Linked DNA regions of Homo sapiens: regions 2, 3, 4, 5 and 6 are each linked to region 1. Evidence: promoter capture Hi-C in 16 types of primary human blood cells and fetal thymus (Javierre and others, 2016). All regions are on one chromosome and are shown on one strand. Each heading gives the region's core, a stretch centred on a gene start or on the middle of the fragment in contact. The rest is flanking DNA. Distances are from core to core; before and after follow the strand shown.

Region 1 (2,952 bases), core at 151-2,650:
TTTTTGGTCTCTTGAGTCTCCAGCATGTGGGGTATCTGTCACAAAGTAGGCAATCAATACATATTTATTTGCAGAATCAAGGGCAGGATGTGGACAAGTGCTGCCACCTATTGGGAGAAACTTTATTTGACTCTAAGGATTTGGACTATGGTTATCACACAAGGACGAAACTTGATACTCTCTCTCATCTAAGTTATCATTAGTTAGACCCTCTATGGTAGCCAGCCTCCAGGATGGCCCGCAGCGATCCCTGTCTGTTGGCATTCATACCTTTGGCTGGATCCTCTCACACATAGGGTTGGTTTGTAAATATGACAAAAGCCGTATGTGACCTCTGGAGCTAGGTCATAAAAGACATTGTGGCTTATACCTTGGTCTCTCTGGGATCACCTGCTCTGAAGGAAGCCAGCTGCCATGTCATGGGGACACTCAAACAGCCCTATGGGGAGGTTCACGTGGTGAAAACAGGTCTCTGGCCAACAGTCATGACTGTGCCATCCTGGAGGCCGATCCTCCAGCCCTAGTCAATAACTGCTGCCCTGGCCTACAGTTTGTAATCTCATGGGAGACCTGGAGACAGAACCACCCAGCCACGCATCCCCAAATCCCTTTACCTCTAAAACCTGTGGGACAACAAATGTTTATTGCGTTAAACTTTGGGGTGATTGTTATGCAGCCACAGAGTTCTAATAAACTGTCGGACATAGATTACTGGCTACAAATAGTTCTACTTTTTTTTTGAGACAGGGTCTCGTTCTGTGGAACCAGGCTGAGGTGCAGTGGTGCGATCACAGCTCATTGAGGCCTCGACCTCCGGGCTCAATCGACCCTCCCGCCTCAGCCACCCAACTAGCTGGGACTACAGGCAGGCGCCACCACACCTAATTTTTTGTATTTTTTGTAGAGATGGGGGGGGGGGTTTCACCATGTTGCCCAGGCTGGTCTCGAACTCCTGGGCTCAAACGATCCACCCGCCTCGGCCTCCCAAAGTGCTGGGATTACAGGCGTGAGCCACCGCGCCCGGCCAACCTAAGGATTAACCTAAGGCTTCTCAGAGCAGATGCCGCTGGAACTGAGGGCCACGGAAGAAAGGGGGTGACACTTGGTCCTGGGGAGTGGCGACTGTATTGTCTGTCTGCAGCATCCCTATCAGCGCTACCGTTGTTCCACGCACACAGGGAGTAAGTACTGGGAGTCCCAGCCACCGCCGCGGAAAATCTGGGATGCCAGCGAGCGGCCGCATCTCGGCGCCTGCGCACTGTGCCCGCGCTCTCAGGCAGCGCCGTTGCGCGCGGAGTCATCGATCGGCCGACCCCGAGAGGCCCGGTTCCTTTAGGCCGCCTGCCCGCCTCCAGCTCTCGGGGTCGGCTCCAGGAGGCGCCCTCAGGAGAGGGGCGGGCGCTCTATTCCAGAGACCGAGTGGCAGGGCGGCCACTGTGGCGGGGCTCTTTCCCCGTTTCGCCTCAGCTACCCCTCAGCTCCGGTAGTCGCCAGTCCGGGGTCGTCGCCGTTTGGGGCGGGAGCTGCTCGGCCCCGCCGCCGTCCCCGTCGCCGCTTCCGGGTCCAGGCCCCTCGGGCCGCCTGCCGCCGTCATGAGGCTGCGGGTGCGGCTTCTGAAGCGGACCTGGCCGCTGGAGGTGCCCGAGACGGAGCCGACGCTGGGGCATTTGCGCTCGCACCTGAGGCAGTCCCTGCTGTGCACCTGGGGGTACAGGTACGCTGGGGCCGGGGCTGGGCGGCCCGCGGGGAGTGGGGAGTGCTTGGGGTGGGTGCAGGGCGGGTTGGCGTCATCTGTGGGCTGCAGGCGCGGGCGTGGCCGGGCGATAGGCCAAGTGCGGGGACGCCGGGGGGGCCTTCACGGGAGGCCCGGGCTCTTCCGGGCGTCGCGGAGCCGGAGGGTGCAGGCGACGGGAAGCGCGGGTGGTCGGCTGGGGTCCGGCTCCTGGAGAACATGGCCCGGCCTCCCGGGGGCTCTGGTCCCCTCCTCGGTGAGTCATGGCTTCTGGTTTTGCAGTAAACGGAACCAGGGAGAGGAGGGAACGCACAATTTCCACAACTGGTTAGATTTCAAGTTGGAAATGATGAGCTTGGCTTGGGTTAAACCTTTCTGGACTGTGAGGGGTCCGAGTTAATTTCTTCAGCTGTTGGAGTATTTCAATGAAAAAGTTTGGAAATTGCTAGAAGTTAAAAATCTGCCCTCAATCCGAGGCCACCGGTAGCTTGTATCGCTGCTGTGAAGCGGCAACAATTTTAGATTCTGTTGTGTTCATGCGCCGAGCACCGCGGTGAGCGCTTGGACTTCGCCGCCGAAAAGTTTTAGAAAGGACAGCGTGTAGGCGTGTTTCAGACCATTTCATTTTCTTGGGTGAAATGTTGCTTTTTTGCTAAAACTGAGGCAAACGTTGATCTTGAGAGCTTGCAGTTTGGGGGCAGTAAAGTTGAGAAAGGATCATATTCTGTTATTGGTTTGTGGGACTGCAGGTGAAGCTGCTTTGTTTCCCTAAAAGATACTTTTTGGGGACAATAATTTGGGAGTAAAGCGGCAAGGTAAGAGTGGTCCTCTTCAAATACTGAGCTAGTGAATTTGAAACTTGAGTGTGCTAAGGAAAAATGAAAAAGATGTTCCCTGGGGATTTTTAGGTGAATTCTTCAAAACAAAAGCAAACCTTCCTACGTTTTCACCTTATTTTTAGGGAATTGGGTAAAATGAGGCCGTTATTCTGAACTTCTCGCCCTTTCATTTTCCTGGTTAAGACATTATTAGATTGAAAGTAAGCCTGTTTTCTTCCTGATTAAAAAAAAAACCCTAAATAAGATACTGACATAACTCCTTTTAAACATTATAGTAAGTGACATGCCTACTGTTATTTCTTGTTGTTAAACCTGTGTGTTTTACATACTGGCATCGTTACCAGTAGGTTACGAGTAGAAGATTGAATAAATCTTCAAACT
Region 2 (2,952 bases), core at 161-2,660, 360 kb after region 1:
AAGGGGCTGTGGTTGAAGACCATGCTGCTATTCTGGTGGCCACTTGTGTGGGATAAAGTTTCCCATGGGCCCCCGTGGAGAGGCTGGAGCACTCTCAGGGGATAGGGGGTGGTCTCAGCCCCCCTCACCGAGTGCACTTGCATGGCAGTAAGCAAGTCGGCGCCTCTGACCCCTGAGTGGGCTTGAGCTTTTGAGAGGTCAGCATGCCCCCTTAAACTTGATGTCTCCTCAGAGCACAGCACAGATGCCCAGCCAAAACACCCAGGGCGAAACCACTCCAAGAGGTGAAAGGGCTTGAGGGGAGACAGGGTACGGCGGGAGACAGAGATGCATGAAATACTAACGTTGAAGATTAGAAATGGGATGTGCACTGGAATGAGATCATTTGTGGTTCTGATGCAAAGACCCAGGCTTGTTTCTAGGGGTTTCTTGGGGCTTCGGGGGCCTCCTGTCAATGGACTGTTTGGACACCCATTTGGATACATGCAATCCTAAAGTCTATGGGCAGTGACAGAGTGATAAGTCTTTATCACTAGCCTCAGGGAGTAGAAGCCCACCTAAGAAATGGCACTGTCCCATGTTGGAGCAAGACCCAACCTACCAAGCTGGGAGTTACCGCCCACTGCAAGGCACCCCTGTACTTTGTTGGACTCTCTGTTTTCTGTCTCTCCAATGGGCTGGACTCTCCAGCCTCCGGGCCTCTGCCCAACCATGACCAGAAGGTCCTCTCCTTTCTCTTTCTCTTAACTGTCTCTAGTGATTCTCTGATCCCAGCTCAGGCAGGATGTCTCCCTCCGGCGCCTCCAGGCTGGCTGGGTGTGTCTGCTGCATGCTCCTGTGGCTCCCTGGACTATAACTCCCTGTCTTCTTGTCTCACAAGAGTAAAATAAGCTTCTTAAAGGTAGGAACCTTGTCTGCCTGCTTATTACTGAATCCCCAAGACATGGCACAGGATCTGAGATGCATAGTTCCTCAAATACTTCTGAATAAATATCAGATGAGTGAATCAATGAATTTCAAGTGGACTTGAGGAGAAGGAGGGGGGGTGGCAAAATAAAACAAACAATAAACACTATGGCAGAGAGGGACACAGGACCTGGAGATGGGGCCTGGATAAACAGCCTGCCATGCTCTTCATATTTCCTGAGTGCTACCACAAGGAAGAGGGGCAGCTGGAGGCCAGAGGGCCTGCAGAGGAGTCAGCAGGTCTAGCAAGGAGTGCCTTGGGTGGAGACTCCCTGGGGCTAATTTTGGTGTCACCACTGACTTCCTTGAGGGTGCTGAGCCTTGGGATCTTCATGTGTTGGTAGCTTTTGGGTGCTGTCCTTCCACAGACACATCAACAAGTTCATGGGGGTCTCCTGTAATAGGGTCCTGTGACTTGCCTCTTTTTGGAGGTCAGTCTTCAATATTTTGGAACAATGTCGGTATTCGGCCTCTCCAGATCACATTTTTACTTGTCCCTTCCTTTTCTGAGTAACTCTATGGAACAAGGACTCCTGACCCAGCACTCCAGGAAGCCAAACACAAAACCATCCCCGTCTTCGTTATTGTATTACCTTTGGTTCCCTCCCACAGCCTCATTCATTCATTCATTCAACATTTTTGGGAACCCTGGCCACAATCTAGGCTCTATGCCATGTGCTGGAGTCCCAGATGCAGTCCCTGCCATCCGGTAATTAGCGATGCTAGTGAGTGTCCAAGGAACCAATCATTAAAGAACACGTGCTGGAAGAAAGAGAGGAAAGCCAAGCAGAAGAGAGGTGGACTAGCTTGGCCTGGGGTGGACAGAAGGCTTCCTGGAGGAGGTAGCATTTCAGCTGGGTGGGTCTTGCAGGAAGCCAAAGGTGCAGGCAGATGCACAGGGAGGAAGTGATTCTCACCTAGGCAAGGGGCATCATAGGACAGGTTCATATAGTGATGGGGGCTGGAAGCTTCAGAGTGATAGGGTTTGAGGTATGGTCCCAGCTCTGAAGAGCCATATATATGCCACCGAGCTATGCAGAATAATCCTGTAGATACTGCAAACCCAAGGGAGGTGTAGGTGAGGATGTAAATGAGGGTTGTGGATCCCATTTGTTCCTGGGAGAATGTGGGGGACTTAGGGGAGAAGGACTGTGTTTCCCACTGTCTATCCTTTGGGGCTTTGACATTTCCCACCTGACAGCCATTTGCAGAGTAAAAGCCTCAGGGATTCTAATCATGCTTGGTGAACACTTTGAGGTAGTCGCCTCATTGGACCCTTAGAAACCCAGGTCACAGAAACACCATCACCCTTCTGAGATTCACAGTCCTCCCTCCCCAGGTAAGTCGGCCCTGAATCCAGGAATCAGCCAGCCCTAGGACTTTTGCCCTGTCCCAGGCCAAGGTATCTGTACCTTTCTTCCAAATTGCTGGTGGCCCCAGGAAGAAATCAAGAGTGGCTGACTTTAAGCAGTTAGATTAAACATCAAATGCATTCATCCCAAGTCCAGGCATATACCTAGAAGGAGCGACTCTTAAATTTTGTCATTTCATTGTGTAAAACTGAGGTTGCCCCTTAACACATGAAGGCCAGCATGGGATGCTAATTTTGTGTTGTGTTCTTTTGGGTAATCTCAAAGTTCCAGGAAGCCTGACCTTCCTAAGCCTGTGTTTCCTTGCCTCCCCTTCCCGGCCCCTTCATTTCATCTACAACAGACGTCAGCAGGGGCCCTGAGTTTTTCCCAGACCGCTCAAGCAGAAACCCATCCTGCTCACAAGGTGAGGAGAGCCAGGAGCTCACAAAGGCCCCTCCTCCCCTTCCCCGGGAGGTCCAGGACAGGGCATCCCCAGGACAGACCTGCCCTGGGGACCCCGGAACACAAGGCAGGTACTGAGAAACAGGAATCTCTGGGCAGGGAGGTTTTCATATCCTCCAGGTTTAATAGCTTTCCCTGAGATGGAAACTTGGGTTGAAATGATTTGCAGCTT
Region 3 (2,952 bases), core at 330-2,829, 340 kb after region 1:
GTATAAAATATGACCATTTCAATATGTAATCAATTTTACACTTATTAATAAGATCTTAATATTTTTAAAATTAAGTTTTTGACATCCATTATGTATTTTACACTCATAGCATATCTCAGTTTGGACTAGTTGCGTTTCAGCTACCTGTGGTTAGTGGCCGCCATGTTAATACTACAGCACAGGTCAAGATAACATTTGCAAAGGCAAGGCATCTTCCCCTCCCCATTTCTAGTTTCATGAACTGTGCACAGGGATATGGGGCTGTTCGAGGTACTTTTGGGCTGACCAAGGCTCAGAGGCTACTGACAGCTTTGCTGCAAGTAACTTCTAGGCCTTGTGGGTCCCAGTGCAGGGAACCCATGTGCGGTGACACTGGAGAAGCCATCTGATCCAGGTCTCTCACTTGACAGATGGGGAAACTGAGGTCCAAAGAGGTACAGCAGCTTGGTTTAAGAGATAGAGATGGAACTGGAACAAAAATAATAACCATTTGATAATATTTTAACATTTATTGATTTGTTTTTATATGCCAAGACCTTTTAAAGCATTATCTCCTTTAAACTCTCATAACCACTCATTGAGGTAGGCACTCCTATTTCTACTTTGCAGATGAAAAAAATTGGGACTTAAGAGGAATTAAATATGAAAGCAGCTACTATTTGTTGACAGCTATTTTAAGATCTTTATATACATATATACATGTAATAAATTCTATTCTTTACTATAAACATACATGTCAGAAATTATTAGTGTTATCATCCTTGTCCTCCTCATTCCACTTTGCAGATGAAAATACTGAAGCTGAGAGAGACTAGGTAACTTACCTAGTATGTACCTACATAGTGAAGCCAGATTTGAGCCGGACCTCCTGACTCCAGAGTCCGAGCAATCTCACCAATTCTGCCCACGGTCACCCCACTGCATGATGGCAGAGCTAGTATTTGAGCAGGTGTGTCTGTTCTGTGGTCTGTGGTCTTCACCGCCCCACTAGACAGCCTGGATTTTTCTGCTCTTGAGTCTCAACACTTTCTGCCTTACTGTGCCACTAGTAAGGAACAGAACAGGGAGGTTTTTGACCCCAGCACTGATTGAAGGGCCCAGGCAAAGCAGGCTCGTCTCCTCTGGCTTGGCTGGTTCCCAGGCTGCCCTAACCCATGAAGCCAGATTCTTGGCCAAGTTAAGCAGGGTGGGAAGAACACTTGTCCATTCCGCCTTCCCAGTTGGGCGAGGTCAGTGTACCAGGTTGGAAAGTGGTATGTGTCTAATTGCAGGGGCGGGGGTAGGGGGGAGGCCAGAGGATTAACACTCTTTAAATAGACATCAGAAAACTAAGAATAGCCTTGCTGCCTGGTAATTGATGGGCATTCCTGACTACGGGCCACACACTCAGTAGGTGCTCGATAAACATGGGTGAAATACAGGAATAAACAAATACTGAAAATGGGTCATTGGGTGAGCACTTAGCCAGTAAAAATCTGTGCTTTGTATAAAAAGAACTTTGGACTGAGGTTATATGAGTCTTCCTGCAGGCTGGAGACCTCTGTTACCTTTACTTCTCTACTTTTGTTGTCTTGAGACCAGCTTTTTTATTTTTGGTGAGGAGAACAGCAGGCAGTTCAAATGTCAGGGAAAGACAAGTTCAGCTTGCTTTTTCCTTATTTCTGTCTTGTTACCTGCTATCCTGCCAGGTTAGAAAGATGGAATCACTCCCTTTTGCCCTATCATCAAGACTTCAGTGTTCCCTGGAGCACTCTAAATTTGCCATCAGACTTGGATCATCCTCTAATACCAAGCTCCTGGGTCCTTCCTGAAGGCTGCCTCCTTGTCTTGCTGAGAAGAATTAAGGTCGCTTCCCTGGGAGGAATTCAGCAGCACCTCTTGTAAGTCATCAGGTGTGCTGTAAGGATGGGGCAGGCAACATTTCTTTGTACTGTGGGAAGGCCTAAATCAGTGTTTCTCAAGGTGTGATCCTTGCACCACCAATCTTAAGAAATGTTCTTTGGAGCCGGGCACAGCGGCTCACGCATATAACCCCACCTTGGGAGGCTGAGGCGAGAGGATCGCTTGAGCCCAGGAATTGAAGACCAGTCTGGGTCACATAGTAAGATTCCCTGTCTCTACTAATTTAAAAAAAAAAAAAAGAAAAGGTGGTTGGGCCTGTAGTCCCAGTTACTCTTGAGGCTTAGGTGGGAGAATCGCTTGAGTCCACGAGGTTGAGGCTGCAGTGAGCCATGATTGTACCACTGCACTCCAGCCAGGGTGACAGAGCAAGACTCTATCTCAAAAAAAAAAAAATGTTATTTGGGAGAGCTGTTTATTGTATTCCCCTCTTGGAGAGACATGTGGCTATTAGCATAGTAAAAGCTCTGAGAAGTCCTGCTGCATGGTGACCTGTTTAGCTCTGTTTAATCCAGTGTTCTCTGAACATATCTAGCCAAGGAACTAATTTTCCCAAGAAGCACCTACAAATGCAGTTGGTGAGACACTGCCCAGATGAGGATTCTGAAAACCCCTTTTGCCCACTTGCCTGCCATTGTGATTGCTGAGTAGGGAAGAAGAAATTAGGAAGTATCATCTGCATTACACAGGGAAGCTGCTCTCCTAGGGTTGCCAAACAGAAATGGCTGTAGTGGTGCCAGTGGGTGCTTTGTAGGGACCAGAAGAAAAAGGAGGAAGGGAAGGCTGACCTTCAAGGTCACACATTTGCCAGATTTAAAGTTCCTTCCTGTGGTCATGACTTGTTTTATAATCTTGCTTGGCTCAGTTCTGGGCACACATCAGATTTTTAAATCCTAGGATCTTGTTTATACCGTTAAGGACATGATTGAAGGACATTGTGGTGAGTGTGAAGGTGAGATGTTTCTGATTGAAGGTCCATGGGGCAGGCACCCTGCGAGCAGGTAATGAACAGTAGGGGACATACCGGTGCAACCCCACCCTGGTCCCCTGGTC
Region 4 (2,952 bases), core at 130-2,629, 340 kb before region 1:
TTTAGGACGGTCAGCTGGGTCTCTCTGCTAAACATCAAGCGCTGTGACACAGGCTCATACAAAAACTACTCCCTAGGACCCCCTATGCCCCCCTCCCCAGCCCCCACCTGCAGCTGTGGTGCAGGAAAGCTGAACCCCTGACTCCGGTGGGCATTTGCTCAGCAGGGTGTCCACAACTCTGCCTGCGCTTCTGAAGCTGAGATGAGACAGTCAGCCCCATGCATACAATGACAGGATGTCTGGAAATGCAGAGGCCCAAGGAAATTCATGTCTGGATCAGGTTTTCCCTTTGATTGTGGCCCAGGAATGGGAATGAGCTCCTGGGAGGGCGTTTGCTTCCCTAAGGAGTGAAGTGGCATGGAAGGGGACAGGGATTCTCTACGTTATAGGGTTGTGGTAACCCTGATCTCTTGGTGACCACAAAGTAAGAGCAGGGAGGCATCCTCAGGTATCCCCAATGCCCCAGAGTCTCAGCAGCCACGGGAAGGTCCAATCTGACCACAACCACAACTCCAGGGGTCTCACTTCCATCCTCTCTGGTGTTGCTTTAGCCTGTAGGCTGAAGATTAACCCCCACCCTAATCGCTTGTGCTATCTATAGATCACAGACAATGGTGTGGAGAAATACTTGCCTTGCTTACCCCCACCTAGTCATGTACCCCATGCTTGCTCAGTCTATCACGACCCTGTCACGTGGACCCCTTAGAGTTGTAAGCCCTTAAAAGGGCCAGGAACTCTTTCTTTGGGGAGCTCGGTTCTGTTCTTATGACGCAAGTCTGCTGACCTCCCGGCCTAATAAAGCCTCTTCCTTCTTTAACCCGGTGTCTGAGGAGTTTTGTCTGTGGCTCATCCTGCTACATTTCTTGGTTCCCTGACCGGGAAGTGAAGCAGCCCCTTAGGTGGCTTAGGCTTGCCCTGTGGAGCATCCCTGCAGGGGACTCTGGCCAGCTTGAGCTACGTGGATCCTGAGCATGCTCCTGGGTAGGCATTTGCCCCGGTGGAATGCCTTGTCAGAGCAGTGCATGGCAGGCCCCAGCAGAGGATCAATGCAGTGGCTGAGCACCGGGAGGGAACTGGCGCTTGGAGTCCGTATATCTGGAACATGGTAGGACTGGTCTTGGGAACTTGCCCACTCCATTTGAGTGGAAGCATGGCCTGATCACCCACAGAGTGCCTTTATCGGCACTTTGGTTTTGGTTTTGATTTTGACTTGGTTTGAATTCCTTGGCAAACGGGCGTGCCTTTGTCGGCACTTTGGTTTTGGTTTTGATTTTGACTTGGTTTGAATTACTTGACAAATGGGCGTGCCTTTATCGGCACTTTGGTTTTGGTTTCGATTTTGACTTGAATTGCTTGACAGGACCTGTCTTGGGAACTTGTCCACTCCATTTGAGTGGAAGCATGGCCTGATCACCCACAGCGTGCCTTTATCAGCACTTTGGTTTTGGTTTTGGTTTTGGTTTTGACTTGGTTTAAATTGCTTGACGAACGGGCGTGTCCTTTATCTGCACTTTGGTTTTGGTTTTGATTCTGATTTGGTGTGAATTCCTTGAACCCATTAACCCACGGGTGGCCCGAATGCATTCAGTCTGTAGCGGCAACTGCTTTGCTGACAGAAGAAAGTAGAAAAATAACTTTTAGAGGAAACCTCATTGTGAGCACACCTCACCAGTTCAGAAGTATCCTAAGTTAAAAAAAAAAAAGCAAAAAGGTAGCTTAATAACTCAAAAATCTTAAAGTATGGGGCTACTCCGTTAGAAAAAGATGATTTAACATAAACCCCTGAAAATTCCCTTAACCCAGAAGATTTCCTAACAGGGAATTTAAATCTTAATTACCATACAAAGATCCGACCAGACCTAGGAGGAACTACCTTCAGGACAGGATGATAGATAGTTCCTCCCAGGTGATTAAGGAGAAAAACCACAATGGGTATTTTGTAATTGAGGAAAACTCTTGTAGAAGTAGAGTTAGGAAAATTGCCTAATAATTGGTCTGCTCAACTTTGCCACCCAGCCAAGCCTTGAAGTACTTACAGAACCAGGAAAAAAAAAAGCCATCTATACCAATTCTAAGTTAATCTGGACTAAACAAAGTCTTATTAATAGCAAAGGATAATTGAAATCCCACACTTACAAGGTTTTCAACAAAAGTAAAGTTGTTTTGCTAAAAGTTAACAGTGTAACGTGTATGATAGTAACTTCTAATCTGTGGCCTTAGACAGTCTAGTCCACAGACCTGAAGGAAGTTTGCTTTGGAAAAGAATGGTTATCATCTTCGAAAAAAAGAAAAAAGAAAAAAAGTGGGGGTGCAGAATTTATATAAAAAGGAATGTTATATGGAAAATTCTTGTCCTGAAATAAATTAACTAGTTGTTTAAGGAAAGGGATGTTTCCAATAAGTCAGAAAGTTGAGACATGTCGAAGAATTGTCTGTGAAAATCATGAAAAAAAGTGTTAGAAAAAGAAATTTATGCAAGAAATGTTGTATAATTTAAATTAATTATCCTCCTGAATGTAAAACTGTTGAAGAAACAGTTTATGTGCAAGGTATATAAGGAAAGTAAAATATGCCTTTGGTAAAAGGATTATAAGGAAGCATAAGAATGTGGATTTTTACCTACATTAAAAGGTTACAAAAATTGTTTTGAAGGTTTAAGCAAGTTTTGAAACATTAATTGTAAAGAAAATTCTGTGTGTAAACATATTGGCTAAAGTTAAAGGGGTATCATCCAGTTTTTCTGTGAACTGGACATTAAAATAAAAACACAACAGATTTTTCTTAAAGCGCTAACCTGCTCTTTGACAAAAATTATAAAAGGTTAAAAAAGTCTATAAAAGGTCAGACATTAAAAATTGAATAAATATGTCTACAAAGTTTTATTAAAACTGTTTAACATTAATAACACTAATATAAAGGTGAAATCTAGCTTATGTGGTATAAACATACAGG
Region 5 (2,952 bases), core at 285-2,784, 280 kb before region 1:
TCATGGGATTAGAGGACTCTGAGACACTCAGGTCTTGTTTTGGTTTACTTTTTTTTCCTCTTTACTTTCAGTTGACATGTAATAATTGTACATATTTATGGCACACAGTAATATTTTGATACATGCATGTATAATAATCAAGTCAGGATAATTAGCACACTCTAAACATTTCTTTCTTTTCTTTTTTCTTTTTTTTTGAGACAGTGTCTTGCTCTGTCAGCCAGGCTGGAGTGCAGTGGCACAAACTTGGCCCACTGCAACATCCGGCTCCTGGGCTCAAGCAATTCTCCTGCCTCAGCCTCCTGAGTAGCTGGGATTACAGGCATGTGCCACCATGCCTGGCTAATTTTTTTTTTTTTTTAGTAGAGACGGGGTTTCACCATTTTGTCCAGGCTGGTCTTGAACTCCTGACTTCAGGTAACCCGCCCGCCTTGGCCTCCCAAAATGCTGGGATTACAGGTGTGAGCCACCGCGCCCGGCCAACATTTATTATTTCTTTGTGATGGGAGCCTTCAGAATCCTCTTAACTTTCTGAAAATATGCAATCATGTATAAGTGACCATATTTACCCCACAGTTGTGCTAGAGCCCATTTCTCCCATCTAGCTGTAATTTTATATTCAATTACCGACCTCTCCCCAAGCTCCCCTCCCTCTTACCCTTCCCAGCCTCCACCAAAGCCCATTTCTCCCATCTAGCTGTAATTCTGTATCCAATAACCAACCTCTCCCCAAGCTCCCCTGCCCCTTACCCTCCCAGCCTCTATACCCACAATTCTATGCTCTGCTTCTGTGAGCTCAGCATTTTTCTTTTACCTCCCATATAGGAGTGAGAACATGCGGTATTTATCTTTCTGGTCCTGATTTATTTTGCTTAACATAATGTCCTCCAGGCTGAGACTCAGGTCTTGACCCAGAGAAGTGATGAATCTGCAGGTATCGTGGAAATGGCCAGGTTAGTGATTAATTTGTACTTAATTCATAAAATAACAGCTTTGTTTTCAAATTTCAAATAACTTGAATATAATCTATTTCCCTCTCCTAAAGTGTATCACATATTAAATGAAGATTTTTTTCTTTGTATATATATTTTTAAAAGACCTACATTTAGTTCTATTAAAAAATGATTTACAGTGGGATGAGATCACTCCTCGGGATTCAGTGTCTGAGCAAGAAAACAAGGCTTGGGAGACAGTGTGTAGGGAGCCAGGTTAACTTTACGTGATTAGAATGAATTGGATCCGGTCATAAAGCAATCATTTGGGGTTTGCTCTTTGCTGGATTCTGGGTCACTCCACATCCACATGTAAAGACAGAGTCCAGTCCTGGTTTATCCTCTGTGTGAGAAAAACTTTCTGCCAAAACCAGGCTGGATACAATGTAAAGAGTGTGAGAATGACTTATGAAAAGAACCAAATTCACAAGATGATCCTTTCAGCTGCTCCAGGGAAGAAGGAACAGACAGCAAGATAGATTTGCAGAAGAGATGTGATGTCAATGAGACAGCAGCATAGTGCAGGGTGAGGCAGCCAGGGCACAGAGAGCCAGCAAAAGCCACTCGGACAGGTGTGGGAGGGACACGGAGCCACAGTCCGTAAAACCCAAAGGACAACTGTAACACTACTTTTTAGTATTTAAAAGGCAATTTCTTATTAATCTGCTTAATTGACATTCATGGTTTGAGATGTTCCATATTTTTCTGCTGTAACTTTGTTCCATTATCTTGTACCAAGCAGAAAAGTTTCTAGCATTGGGCATAAAGTAACTGTCTAAATAGTTTTGTGGCTAAAAGTTTATTTGCCCTGCTCAGGAGAAACTATAGGTTTGTCAATGCCCAGATTAATCACAGGACAGATACTCAGGAAGATTTGGTCATTGATAATTGAATCTGCAAAAGCAAAAAATGGGCACAGTGGCTCTGCAGCAGAAATCTTAGTGAATGTAAAGATATGAGTCCCATCATTAATGTTATAAAAGGAAATCATTCTCATACACATATCCAGGAAAATGCCTACCCTGCATAGCCCGGGACTGACCCAGAGGGTGGTTAAAGGCACAGTGCTGGCTGCAAAGAGCTTTTCTTTCCTCACACCCACAGTCCAGAAGCCAAGTTCTTTTTTTTTTCTTTTTTTTTACTTCATTTTTTTTTATTATTATACTTTAAATTCTGGGGTGCATGCGCACAACATGTAGGTTTGTTACATACGTATACATGTGCCATATGCTGCGCCCGTTAACTCGTCGTTTACATTAGGTATATCTCCTAATGCTATCCCTCCCCTGTCCCCCCATCCCACGACAGGCCCTGGTGTGTGATGTTCCCCACCCTGTGTCCAAGTGTTCTCATTGTTCAAATCCCACCTACGAGTGAGAACATGCAGTGTTTGGTTTTCTGTCCTTGCGTTGGTTTGCTCAGAATGATGGTTTCTAACTTCATCCATGTCCCTACAAAGGACATGAACTCATCCTTTTTTATGGCTGCATAGTATTCCATGGTGCATATGTACCACATTTTCTTAATCCAGTCTATCATTGATGGACTTTTGGGTTGGAAGTGGGATTTAGAGATCACACTCCGGCTGCTACTTACATAGTCCTTTTGAGTCAGACACTCCAAACACACCCAAAATGAACATGAGACCCTGAGAGGGTGATAGGGGCTTGCTTCCAACTTCTCCCTGGAGGTTGAGGCTGGACTTTCTTACTAGTACCTGGCAAGACCCATCCCAAACTAAGACAACACCAGGGAGGATGGAAGGGAGACCCCTGGAGTTGTGGTTGTGGTCAGATTGGACCTTCCCACGGCTGCTGACTCTGGGCCAAGCTGCCCCTTCTCTGGGGCATTGGGGACACCTGAGGATGCCTCCCTGCTCTTGCTTTGTGATCACACCAAGAGATCAGGGTTACAACAACCCTGTAGTGTAGAGAATCCCTGTCCCTTTCCATGCCCCTTC
Region 6 (2,952 bases), core at 313-2,812, 260 kb before region 1:
CAGGGATCAAGGATGGAGCTTCCATTTTGTTGAGGGGGACCAGCCGGGCCTCACTGGCCAGGGCCATCCCAACTGGGTCAAGACCTGGGAAGATGGGGCTGAAACTCCTGGAGTCAGGGCTAGGTTAATGGGAAGGTTCCCAGGACACTGCACTCTAGGGTAACCAGCTTCTCCCTGGAGGGAGAGGGTACTGTCTGCATCACCCCATGGTATCACCAAGCAATCAGTGTTGAGTCAACTCCCCCAGGGAGACCAGGTATCCCTGTCCATGAAAATTCCTCCTAGTGGCATAAATGCCCTCTGATAAACTCATCCCCATGACTACATGATGGTTGGTGGGAAAACCAAACCCAAGACGCCGATGTCCTCCAGGGATCCTGCTGCTGGTCACAGGATGTCACTTGTCCCCTTATCTGTGGGGGTGAGGGTGAGGGGTGTGTGGACTCAATGAGCAGATGCCACCAGGGGGAGTGGCCAGAGCTTCCTTCCTCACAGCTGCAGTGGGGGCTGGGGGTAGGGGCATCCCAGGGAGGGGTTTTTGTATGAGCCTGTGTCACAATGTGGCGCTGGGTCTGCTGGCGGGCCTCCTGATGGTTCTTGCCTGTGCCCATGGCAGCAGGTGGGACAGAACAATCCTCAGGCTCCCAGGTGCTTGCCTGGAAGTGCAGCGGCGGCGAGTGGGGCAAGTCTTCCCTCAAGCCCTGGGACAGTATCTGGGTGGGCTGGTTCCCAGACACAATGAAGGTACGTGCAATTTTGTGTCAGCCCTGCTGCTGGGGGTGGGATGTGGGGTTGCTGTCAGTGGCAGCAGCCACAGGCAGATGGCTCTCAGGCTCATGCACTTGGGTTTCCTTTGTCATGGAGCTGGCCTCCTTGGTGCACTGCATTGCCCATTCCCTGGGGTGTAGGACTCTTGTGTGGGCTAGAGTGCTGGAGACGCGGTCAAACCGCTGGTCTAGCCGGCATCATGCTGCTGTAGCCCTCTAAGTGGATAAGGGGAGATGTCAGGGGGGCTCTAGGGATGTGGAGATGCAGGGCTGTTGGGCCCCAGGGCAAGAGGCAATCCTCATGGGGTCTGGGCTCTCAAAATGGCACGTGCTGGAGCTTCTTGGATCTAAAGTGTGTGTGTGGTACCCAGCACGACTCCCTCTGGAACAATGCCATTGCGTGGACAAGTACAGGCAGCATCCTATGCTGTCTCAGGGCCCACAAGAGCTGAGGGGCTCTCCCATGGCCAGGGTTGCAGGAATCTGTGGTGGGAATGTGGACCCCTGGGAATCTCTCACTTACCTTTTCCCCTGCACTGGGGAGCTCATCTGGTCTTGCTTTTCTCTCCTTCCATATCTCGGATGGTTCTGTCACTTCCCCGCTGAATTCCAGCATTCTCTGTTAGATGCTCTATTTGACATGTGATTATCTGTTTTGCTCCTTCTTTGTGGAGGAGACGAATGTTGGGCACCTCTAGTCAGTCACCTTGAAGCTCTTCTCCAAGTGTCATTTTTTTTTTTGAGTTTTAAAGTTGGCCTGTTGGTCTTTTTATTCCGGATACAACTCCTTTGTCAGACGTGTGCGTACTCTAAGTATTTTCAGTTATTTTGTGGGTTGTTTGGTCATTTCCTTTAAGGTGACTTTTGTTGGCTAGAAGTTTTCAATTTTGATGTAGTTCAATATATTGCTTTTTTCTCCTATGATTGGTAATTTTTGTGTCCTCTGTATGAAGACATTGTCTATTCCAAGGAGGTTATATTATATATATACACACACACACACACACACACACACACTATATATATATATACACACACTATATATACACACTATATATACACACACTATATATATACACACTATATATGTATGTGTGTATATATATACATATATGTATACATATATATCTATATATGTATACATATATGTATACATATATATCTATACATATATGTATATATCTATATATGTATACATATATATCTATACATATATGTATATATCTATATATGTATACATATATATCTATACATATATATGGATATATATCTATATATGTATACATATATATCTATACATATATATGGATATATATATCTATATATGTATACATATATATCTATATATATAGCAGGGAAGCCCAAGTCTGTTTCTTCCTATCCAAATGCAGTTCAACAGTTAGGCTTACTTGTCTCTTTCTCATTTATTTATGGGAGCTCTTTTTTTCCTGTTTTGTAATATCTTTTGGACTCCACATTTTCAATTTCATTTGCACTGCCTTTTGATATACAAAATGTGTTTATTATTTTTAGGTTTCCTGTTTTAAGAATGTTCCTCACCTTAAACCACTTGATAGAAAAATAGGAAAAGGTTATAAATAGGCAACTAATTGAAGTTAAAATAACTGATTAGTTAGCACTCCTGTGAGATTTTTCACCAAGGGAATTAGCAAGATATATATATTTTTTGAAAAAGCAACAACTTTTGTTGCTACTGAGCCTGCAGGGGAAACGGTCCTCCTGCTTGTTCCCTGTTGATGGGAATGTGAATTGCTTCAACTTTTTGGAAAGTAACTAATCAGTATCTATTAAAAGTGTAAGTAAACATAGCTATGGCTAAGTTATACCACTACAAAGATTCTGTCCTGTAGAAATGAAACCATCCAGTGTAAAAGATGATTGCTACAACACTATTTGTGGTGGCAAAGAGTACTTAACTTGAATGTCCATCTGAAGGGGAATTGTTGGCTGGATGCAGTGGCTCATGCCTGTAATCCCAGCGCTTTGGGAGGCTGAGGTGAGTAACTTGAAGTCAGGAGTTCAAGACCAGCCTGGGCAACATGGCAAGATCCCATCTCTGAAAAAAATAGGGTGTGGTGGCATGTGCCTGTAGTCCCAGATACTTGGAAGGCAGAGGCAGGAGGATTTCTTTGGCCCAGAAGTTGTTCTTTTAATTTCTGGCCTT

What was found. Contacts are between HindIII fragments. The CHiCAGO score rates a contact against its expected background, and 5 or more counts as called.
Region 2: a contact is called between a fragment that was not itself captured here and the fragment with the promoter of FBXO7 in region 1, in 1 of 17 cell types (M1 macrophages). The highest score is 5.2, in M1 macrophages.
Region 3: a fragment that was not itself captured here is called in contact with the fragment with the promoter of FBXO7 in region 1 in 3 of 17 cell types (erythroblasts, M1 macrophages and M0 macrophages); the score reaches 7.0 in erythroblasts.
Region 4: a contact is called between a fragment that was not itself captured here and the fragment with the promoter of FBXO7 in region 1, in 11 of 17 cell types (naive CD4 T cells, total CD4 T cells, activated CD4 T cells and 8 more). The highest score is 15.3, in naive CD4 T cells.
Region 5: a contact is called between a fragment that was not itself captured here and the fragment with the promoter of FBXO7 in region 1, in 1 of 17 cell types (naive CD4 T cells). The highest score is 5.9, in naive CD4 T cells.
Region 6: a contact is called between a fragment that was not itself captured here and the fragment with the promoter of FBXO7 in region 1, in 2 of 17 cell types (naive CD4 T cells and total CD4 T cells). The highest score is 5.3, in naive CD4 T cells.

Annotation. Positions count from the first base shown.
Region 1 is chr22:32,473,411-32,476,362 of GRCh38, forward strand. It overlaps FBXO7 (F-box protein 7), which reads left to right and starts at 1,401. Exons shown (of 9, transcript NM_012179.4): 1 at 1,401-1,714. The coding sequence starts at 1,593. RefSeq lists enhancers at 376-435, 1,161-1,661, 1,324-1,493, 1,662-2,162, 1,748-1,917 and silencers at 1,482-1,671, 1,682-1,991. The HindIII fragment of the contact is 4,456 bases long and covers 1-2,952 here.
Region 2 is chr22:32,837,219-32,840,170 of GRCh38, forward strand. The region is part of intron 6 of SYN3 (synapsin III); the gene reads right to left. All of the region lies in intron 1 of TIMP3 (TIMP metallopeptidase inhibitor 3), which reads left to right. Among named protein-coding and RNA genes, the nearest start is that of TIMP3, 37 kb to the left of the region's middle. The HindIII fragment of the contact is 1,043 bases long and covers 890-1,932 here.
Region 3 is chr22:32,814,936-32,817,887 of GRCh38, forward strand. All of the region lies in intron 6 of SYN3 (synapsin III), which reads right to left. The region is part of intron 1 of TIMP3 (TIMP metallopeptidase inhibitor 3); the gene reads left to right. Among named protein-coding and RNA genes, the nearest start is that of TIMP3, 15 kb to the left of the region's middle. The HindIII fragment of the contact is 7,068 bases long and covers 1-2,952 here.
Region 4 is chr22:32,136,808-32,139,759 of GRCh38, forward strand. No RefSeq gene overlaps it. Among named protein-coding and RNA genes, the nearest start is that of C22orf42, 21 kb to the right of the region's middle. The HindIII fragment of the contact is 8,725 bases long and covers 1-2,952 here.
Region 5 is chr22:32,195,277-32,198,228 of GRCh38, forward strand. All of the region lies in intron 2 of RFPL2 (ret finger protein like 2), which reads right to left. Among named protein-coding and RNA genes, the nearest start is that of RFPL2, 8.3 kb to the right of the region's middle. The HindIII fragment of the contact is 3,731 bases long and covers 1-2,952 here.
Region 6 is chr22:32,211,717-32,214,668 of GRCh38, forward strand. The region is part of intron 2 of SLC5A4-AS1 (SLC5A4 antisense RNA 1); the gene reads left to right. Among named protein-coding and RNA genes, the nearest start is that of SLC5A4-AS1, 8.1 kb to the left of the region's middle. RefSeq lists an enhancer at 386-887. The HindIII fragment of the contact is 3,566 bases long and covers 1-2,952 here.